3 separate regions of the Homo sapiens genome follow, and all the other regions are linked to region 2. The links are contacts of gene promoters, found by promoter capture Hi-C in blood cells and fetal thymus (Javierre and others, 2016). All regions are on one chromosome and are shown on one strand. Each heading gives the region's core, a stretch centred on a gene start or on the middle of the fragment in contact. The rest is flanking DNA. Distances are from core to core; before and after follow the strand shown. Region 1 has its middle 25 kb from the start of SETMAR. Region 2 holds the start of TRNT1 (tRNA nucleotidyl transferase 1). Region 3 has its middle 5.3 kb from the start of SETMAR.

Evidence for each region. Contacts are between HindIII fragments. The CHiCAGO score rates a contact against its expected background, and 5 or more counts as called.
Region 1: a contact is called between a fragment that was not itself captured here and the fragment with the promoter of TRNT1 in region 2, in 1 of 17 cell types (fetal thymus). The highest score is 5.8, in fetal thymus.
Region 3: a fragment that was not itself captured here is called in contact with the fragment with the promoter of TRNT1 in region 2 in 1 of 17 cell types (naive B cells); the score reaches 8.9 in naive B cells.

What each region holds. Positions count from the first base shown.
Region 1 is chr3:4,277,203-4,279,902 of GRCh38, forward strand. It overlaps a transcript of SUMF1 not described here. Among named protein-coding and RNA genes, the nearest start is that of SETMAR, 25 kb to the right of the region's middle. The HindIII fragment of the contact is 183 bases long and covers 1,320-1,502 here.
Region 2 is chr3:3,125,490-3,128,189 of GRCh38, forward strand. It overlaps TRNT1 (tRNA nucleotidyl transferase 1), which reads left to right and starts at 1,451. Exons shown (of 8, transcript NM_182916.3): 1 at 1,451-1,501. LOC124909339 (a long non-coding RNA gene) reads right to left here and starts at 1,342. Exons shown (of 2, transcript XR_007095786.1): 1 at 1,071-1,342. RefSeq lists a silencer at 1,155-1,574 and enhancers at 1,782-2,512, 1,935-2,014. The HindIII fragment of the contact is 15,170 bases long and covers 1-2,700 here.
Region 3 is chr3:4,296,747-4,299,446 of GRCh38, forward strand. It overlaps a transcript of SUMF1 not described here. Among named protein-coding and RNA genes, the nearest start is that of SETMAR, 5.3 kb to the right of the region's middle. The HindIII fragment of the contact is 1,084 bases long and covers 866-1,949 here.

The DNA of each region.
Region 1 (2,700 bases), core at 161-2,660, 1.2 Mb after region 2:
CTAGGAACCATTGATATAGTCTAATCACATTATTTAACAAAGGAGAAAAATAAAATTCAAATAAAGAATGAAGACAAAATGAAAATACCCAGGTCTCCTTTCCCAAAAGCCTGGTGTTCTTTCCATTACCTTATCAACATAAATTATAATTACATATAAATAATATGTCTAACATTAAATTAAAAACCACTTACAACTATTTGGATCAAAGGAGAAAGATTACCCAGGACAGTACAAGAAAATGAGGGTCAACTAGAGGAAAACTTAACATCACATAGAGAGATCCAGACCTAATAAGAAGAACAGAGGGAACTGGAGGAAAAGAAGCAGGAGACAGGAAAGACAGGGATGCTATGCAAATTAGTGAGGGAAAATAGACACAGTAGGACCTTGAATTAAACTCAAAATGAAAAACGTTTATAATCTTTACATCTAGGAGGCTCAGAAGAACTGGCATAAATGAGAATGACTTTATATGTTCCATTTCTGGATTACACTTTCTCAATCAGCATAATAATCTGTGGATGGACAGATTGCAACAGACCACTATCAGCAGTGTTAGAGTACCTCCATTAAATAATAGGCCAATAACGAGGTCACCACAGCCTAGGAAGAGCTTCCTCTGGGGTCTCCCATTTCCACAAGTACCTTTAAACAGGGCCCATCCAAAGTTTTAAGGTATTGACGTGGTAATCTAATCATCACTATCATTATCATCAAATTATCATCATCAATTAAAAAAATGTATGCAGTTAAAGTACAGCAGTTATCAAAGGAAAAAATTATGTAGAGAATGTTTGAACTACAAAATGAATTTCTTTTTTCGCTACAACACAAGAGAGGAGTTTGGTCCCAAGTATTTTAACATGTTAATTGAACACCCAGATTTGTTTGGCTGATATTTTTGGCACGTTTATTTTCTTAATATTTCAATAGAACAAAAGGACTGCAACATCTTTTTGGATGGCATATGAGATCAAAGGACAAAAGCAAATTTTAAAACCTTGGAAAAATATTATGGCATGTTCTATAATTTATCAATAATTATCAGTGAAGTAGGTAATAATCTTGATATATTGTACCAACTACCTTATTAATTTGATGAAACTTCTGAATTTTGTTTTCCATTAAAGGAGATCAAATCATAGGACATGCATTAATCTCAAACCTATTACCTTTAATGAAAGGTCATTTAAATTTGGCTATAATTTTAAAGGAGAAATTGTTAGAATTAACTACTGATAAAAAATTGAAGATGAATTTTGAAAATACAGGATGACTTGCTTAATTCTGAGCAAAATTTTAAAAAGAACATCCTAAGCTTGCTAAACTTTTCTAAAAATCTCTTCATATATAACAATCAAATACGTCTATGAGACTGGTTTCTCTACTAGGAGTGTTATTAAAACAGACAACAGAAACCGTTTAGACATACGTTATCTCCCTCAAGTGGCACTGTCATCAGTCGAACCAAGATTAGATAAATTAACAAGCAAAAAGCAAGCTTATTTGTCACATCGATGGCAGTGAGTCTTGATATACATGGTATTCTTTCAAAATGGGTTATAGGTATATAATAAAAGAAACCCCGGGTTCACTTTTAACATTGTATTTATTTATAATGGTGGAACAATAAAAACTTCTAAAAATAATAAAAATTCCCCATAGTAGCTATTCTCAAATTTTTTCATGCCTTTTACATCAGACAAATGATTGAGGATACCAGAGTACCCTTTAAGAACCACTGCTCTGTGTTTATCATCTAGGCTTTGTAGTTTGTATGCATTTCTAATTTTATTTTTATGATAATTTGTGTTTACTGTATTTTACAAAAGTATTGGTCTACAAAGGATTGGAAAATTTTTTTTAAACAAAACAAAACTTGACACTTTTGCCACATGTAGTTTGAGAAGAATTGCTCTAATGCAACCCTGCATGACTAAGTTAGACATTTCTAGTCTAACACCAGCCACTTCATTTGACAGATTATTAGTATTACACTGAAGTACTATATGAAAGTCATGGTAACCTAAAATAGTTCATTAAAAGTCAGATATGTGAAGAAAATCATGTAAATACCTTTAACCTTTTATTGTCAATTTATAATCTCACAATGTAGAAACAAAACAATCAAGGGCCTCTAAGAAGTCATATATGGGTTTTTACTAGCTAAAAGAATGAAAACAGCCTGCATGCCCATCAACAATTAAATACATTATGACACACAATCATACAACAAAATAGTATAAAGCCATGAAGAATGAGGTAGCTTAGTGTGTGCTGATTCACAACTCTCTCCAAGATATACTGGAAAGTAGAGAAGCAAGTTACAAATAGTAGGCGCTATGATCCAACTTATATGAGAACCAATCTGAGGAGATGCCATTGAGCTGGGAATGCATTCTCTGTGGGAGGTGAAGGTTCATCACAGCAGAGCTGGAAGCAATAAATGCAAAAAAAAAATAAAGCCATGTTGTGTTTATACTCTGACAAGAGACTCATAATACGAACCAAGTTACATATGCCACCTCAGCAGGCTGGAAGATAATTTTTTAAATGGAACCACTTTTTCCCAGTTCCTGGCTTTATTTAGGGAACCCATTTCCTAAAATTATCAACTTTAGGATGCATAAAAATTAGTGTACCAGATGGCATACACACCAAAAAACTGCATGTACTATATCTTATGAGACACTTTTT
Region 2 (2,700 bases), core at 201-2,700:
GTATTAGCGTTGCCTTCATAGGTGGTGATTTGGAGAATCTATTCTAGGTGGGTACAGCAATGGAGGCTTTGGTCCAGTTTGTCTAGGGTCATGGTGGTGAGAAATAGCAGACAAGCCTGAAAGGATGATTTGGGGCTTTCCTTGCCCCAAAGAGAGAGAGAGACAGAAAATCCTTGCACCGGATGATATCAATGCTGTGCCTCTGAATGTCCATTTGGAAAGCCAGTCCTGTGCTTCCAAAAACAGGATATTCAACACCTTGAAGAGGTGTGGTAATTGCACATCTTACTTTTTACGTTTTAGGAAGTCTACAGAGAGTGGGGCTGAAAAGTTTGGGAAGAACAGGTAGGCATGTGGGGAGGGCAAAAGAACAGAAATAACATGCACAAGCATTTTTCTAGGAAAATTTTAGGGAAAGCTAAGTGATGTAAAGTTACACTTAAAAGACTACACATTTTCGGCCGGGCGCAGTGGCCGAATCCCGGCAAAAGTAATCCCGGCACTTTTGGGGGCCGAGGCCTGGGGAACACGAGGTCAGGAGTTCGAGACCAGTTGGCCAACACGGCAAAACCCCGTCTCTACTAAAAATTAGCCGGGCGTGGTGGCAGACACCTGTAATCCCAGCTACTCGGGAGGCCGAGGCAGGAGCATCGCTTGAAACCGGAAGGCGGAGGTTGCAGCGAGCCCAGATCGCGCCACCGCACTCCAGCCTGGGCGACAAGAGCGAAACTCCGTCTCAAAAACAAAACAAAACAAAAACTACACATTTTCGCACTTTAAGGGCTCAACGGCTGTATTCCCACTCCTTTGCCACTCTCTTTGCTCTTTTCCGCTCTAGAAAGAATTAATGAACTGGATCAAATCTAAGTTCTCCACGTTACAGATGGGAAGCCTCCGGGCCAAGGAGGCCAATGGTTACACAAACCAGGTAAGAAAATAAAATATGCCCAGTAAGTTCATAGGACCGGCGGGCTTAGATTTCGAATGCGCGTGACTCTGTCAACTGTGGACTTAACCCTATGCAGAGATTAGAGGAGAGAATAGTCAAACACGGATAAGTTAACATTTACCGAACAGTCCGTCCTACCCTGGGGTAGGTTTTATTAACAGTCTCGTTTTGCAAAGGAAGACAGCTGCCAGTTGTCTCAGATCGCACGGGCATGCCGCGCAGATGGGCTTCTGAGCAGCTCAGGGCCAGCCAGAGGTCTGGCGAGAAGGGCGTAATTAAACGAACCCGCGCCGGTTTCCTCAGGGCCCCCCGGGGCTCCGCTTCGCCCCAGCGGGCCTCGGCGGGGCTGGGAAACCGGCTGAGGTTCGCCTCACGGTGGGGAGGAGCGACGGGAGGCGGAAGCCCTTCGGTCCGGGCCCCGCCCCCGCACTCGCCCTCGCCCCGCCGCGACTTCCCATTCGCCGCCAACCCATGTGCGTTGGTGACGTCACCGCGTTCACCAGCCCGGAAGTGCGCGTGGCGGCGGTGGCGGCTGCGGCAACAGCGGGGCCGGTAAGCGGGCGCGCGCCGCTCAGAGGGGCAGAGTTGGTGGCGTGAGTTGCTGCCCCTTCCTTCCTGCTGTGGGCCAGAGGCGCCACCGCGCCCGGTCCTCGAGGAAGACGGGAGCGGGACGTGGCGAGAGGCCTCCTCAGCAGTGGGCAAAATAGCCCCGACGCGGAGGTCGTGTCCCCGCCACGTTTCCGGCGACCGCAGGCGCGGATTCCTTGGCTTCCCTCAGCACTTTCCCCTCCGCGCGGACGGCCCCGAGACGCTTTTTCACTGGGCCTTGTCGCCAGCACCCGGCGTGGGGGGTGAGACGCGCCTTTTCAGGGCTGGGGTTCCCCAGAGCGTTTTCCTAAGTCGAGGCGGAGGTGCGAGGAAACTGAGTGGGTCTTTCCGCCCCACGTGGCCTGCCGGGAAGCGCGGCTCCTCCACCCGCTTCCGTGGAATGGAATGGTTTTTCTCTGCAGGTTTACACCGGGGTCACTCGAGAGCTGCTGCGGCCTCCTTATGGGCAGGACCCCCGTATGGGGAGAACGAGGATGTGATATGTAGAAGGGAAGGCCGCGGTGTGCCAGAAATCAGAGGAGATTGCAAGATGGCAGGAAAAGAATCAGGAAAATGGGGGCAGCAAAACTAAATTCATGGGAAAATACAATGTCTAGGAGCTATCCCAGGGTCGTGAATCCTCGAGTGCAGGTGGGGAAGTAGGGTGATACCCACCTGTGACCATGACAAGTTTTGGAGACCAGAAACTCGGTTAGAGTTTCTAGAACCCCGCATCCCTCTCATACTGCCTGAAGCCCTGCTCTGGGGAGAGTGTCATCACAGTACCATGTGGCATGCGAGTGTCGTGGTAATGCTCCCCGACCAAACCACCAAACCGAGGGTTGGGCTGCTTATTCTCGCTGCCCAATAATGAGATGCAGATAAACTAGGAAAGAAAGGAGTTTATTTCTGTAACCAGGTACGGGGCGAAGGCGTGGAAAATATCCCAGACCGACTCAGAATTACAGAGCTTTCCAGAGCTTATATACCTTGTAAGTTGTATGTTTATGTGTAAGTGTGCATTGATCTAAAGATACAAGTGATTAACTTCTTACCCATAAGATCTGAGTCCTGAAGACCTTCCTCTGGAGCCTGAGTAAATTTACTTAATCTAAATGGGTCCAGGTGCTGGGGTGATTACCCTTATATTCTCTCCTGCTAAA
Region 3 (2,700 bases), core at 158-2,657, 1.2 Mb after region 2:
TAGCTAATTATCCAACCCACACTGTCTAATGATAATAATGGTAATAATAATGTCATTATAAATGTTCACAGTACCTTTCCTGGCTAAAATTGTTTAAAGTAACAGAAACCACTCTGACTTAACCTAAACCCAAAGGAAGAATTTATTATAATAATATAGTTATGTAATGTGAATCGAAAAAGAGACTGAAACCAGAAATAGACAGCTGTCCTCTCTCCTTATCACTCATCTGCTTTATTTTTCTCTTGGAAGACGGACTTTCCCCTGCTTCTCCATCTATATACCAAATAAACCTACCTCTCAGCTCCTGAATTATAAATAATAGTTTTAGCTGTGATTTGGTCTCAGCTCCTGACCAAGAGAACCTAATTGTCCTAGATTGAAAAAGGTGTGCACCTGTAAGCTAAAAACTTGGGCCGAGGCTTTTTAGGAGATCACTGTGTAATATAAACATAACTGTCTGTGAGCCCACCCCGTTAGACGGGCTGGGTGAGGGATGGCATGTTCTCACAAGGGAAATGGTCACCAAATTGGACAGAAATCCCCAAAAGGATCAATTACCATGCTTCTTTTTAAAATGACTTCATGCAACAATCTTTTTTCATGAGAGGATCCAGTGCCTGTACTATGCCTACTTGGTATCTACTGGTGTCAGGTGTTTTGGGTTTGTTTTAGAGAGAAGGTCTCTCTCCGTCGCCCAATCCAGGCTGCAGTACGGTGGCACAATCATAGCTAACTGAAGCCTTGGATTGCTGGGCTCAAGCAATCCTCCCACCTCAGCCTCCCTAGAATTACAGCCACAAGCCACTACACCTGAATTTTTTTTTTTTTTTTTTTTTGAGATGGAGTCTGGCTACGTTGCCCAAGCTTGCCTGGAACTCCTGGCCTTGAGCCATCCTCCATCCTCCTACCTCAGCTTCCCAAGGCACTGGGATTACAGACATAAGCCACTGTGCCTGGCCGTGATAGTTCTTATTAGAAGGCTAAGATGTTTCAAATGCTAACAAATATGTAAGTAATTTCTGCTGACTTTCCTCCTTTCATCACTGGCTACAAAGTACATCCCAGAATATTAAGCTCAGATAATGCTAGTGAAACTTTGATAAAAGAATGGCTTCTGAATACAAAGCCATGCAGAACTTCATAAAAACCCTGAACAAAAAAGCATAAAAACACCCCAATTAAAGACCACTTTTGTTAATAAATGTAAAGCTCAAATAGTCATACCTCATAATTTAGCCAAGGATAACTGAACCTATGAAATGTCAGAGTTTTATTATATTGTATTGTTTTCTTTTTATTTTTTTATTACTGATCAGATTAGTTTCTCTTCTGCCAGTGAAAAATCCAAAAGAAATCTGAATAATCAATGCAATATTCAGTTCCAAAACCTGTTTATGGAAATCTATTAGGGCAATTCATTAATGTCCAGAAATACATTTTTCCCCACCATCTAGCTATAATGGTTTGCAGAACAAATTCTGAAGATCAAGGTTCCTGGTCAATGAAAAGCAGTTGTCTAGAGAAAATAAGACAGGTTTCTAGACCCCGAAAAGATGAAAGACTGACAGCTTGGCATTCTGAAGATTGGTTATATCAGCCTGCAAACATCCTCTCATTATTTTAATCTCATACTCTATAAAATACTTTTGGATCCTCTGCCAGCAAGATAAAAACAAATTAAACCAAAGGGCCAGCATGCACAAAATATCTTATTCTGGAAGCACCACTGCTGACAGCTTCCGAAAAAATAAAATAAAGTGGATCCTTCAAAAAAATTTTCCAAATAGCAGACAGTATTACCAAGAAAGAGTCAAAAACTAAAAATGGCATAACAGCAAATATAGGAGTGTGGTTCTCCTCATGGCTCTTATAATTCTTTTCTCACAACATTCTTACAATTTCTATCACATTCTGTAAGTATATAGTTATTTGTCTGTTACACTGCAAGCTTTTCTAGGGTACCATGTCTTCTTCATGTATACATTCCCCTAATTGGTAAACTGGACCATGCATGTAATCAGTGGTCAAACTTTTCTTAAAATGAATGAACAGCATGTTCTCTGAATATCTGAGAAATTCCCATACTATTCAAAATTCCTGAAGGGTGAAACAAACCTTATCTCCAGCCAATCTGAAATTACTCTTTCCTATCCACATCTTTCTTTTTATTACTTTGCTTCTCCTGTTCCTTCCACCTGGAATGCCTAAATCCTATCCATCATTCATGATCTCCCCTGCTAAAAGTAATCTTTACCAGTTCTAAAGATCCATAGCACTTTACCTAAACCTTCTTATGTTTCTTAATTATACTATAAGCAGCTAATTGTATCATATACATGACTATCTCTTCTTTTAAGGAAGGATAGGTACACAACTATATCTGATAAAATATTTACTAGGCAGCTACCTTAAAATCTATAGCTTCTGAGAGGCAAGGCTTCTAATTCAGGATTCCCCCACACCCTATTAATGGGATATATTCTCCTTGCATTTGAGCCACCCTCTGGGAGAACAAACAGCTCCCAGGCAGCTCTGTGACCTGCTGTGTGGACTGCAAGCACTATTCCCACAGAAGGGGTACACCTGAGGCCTCTCTGCTGGTAGGCTTTGGCTCTTGTCCTATAATCTCAAGTGAAGCTAATGCCAAGTGTGGCCAGTGACAGTCCTGTGAACCCGAATGTTTAGTTGAACCTGAAA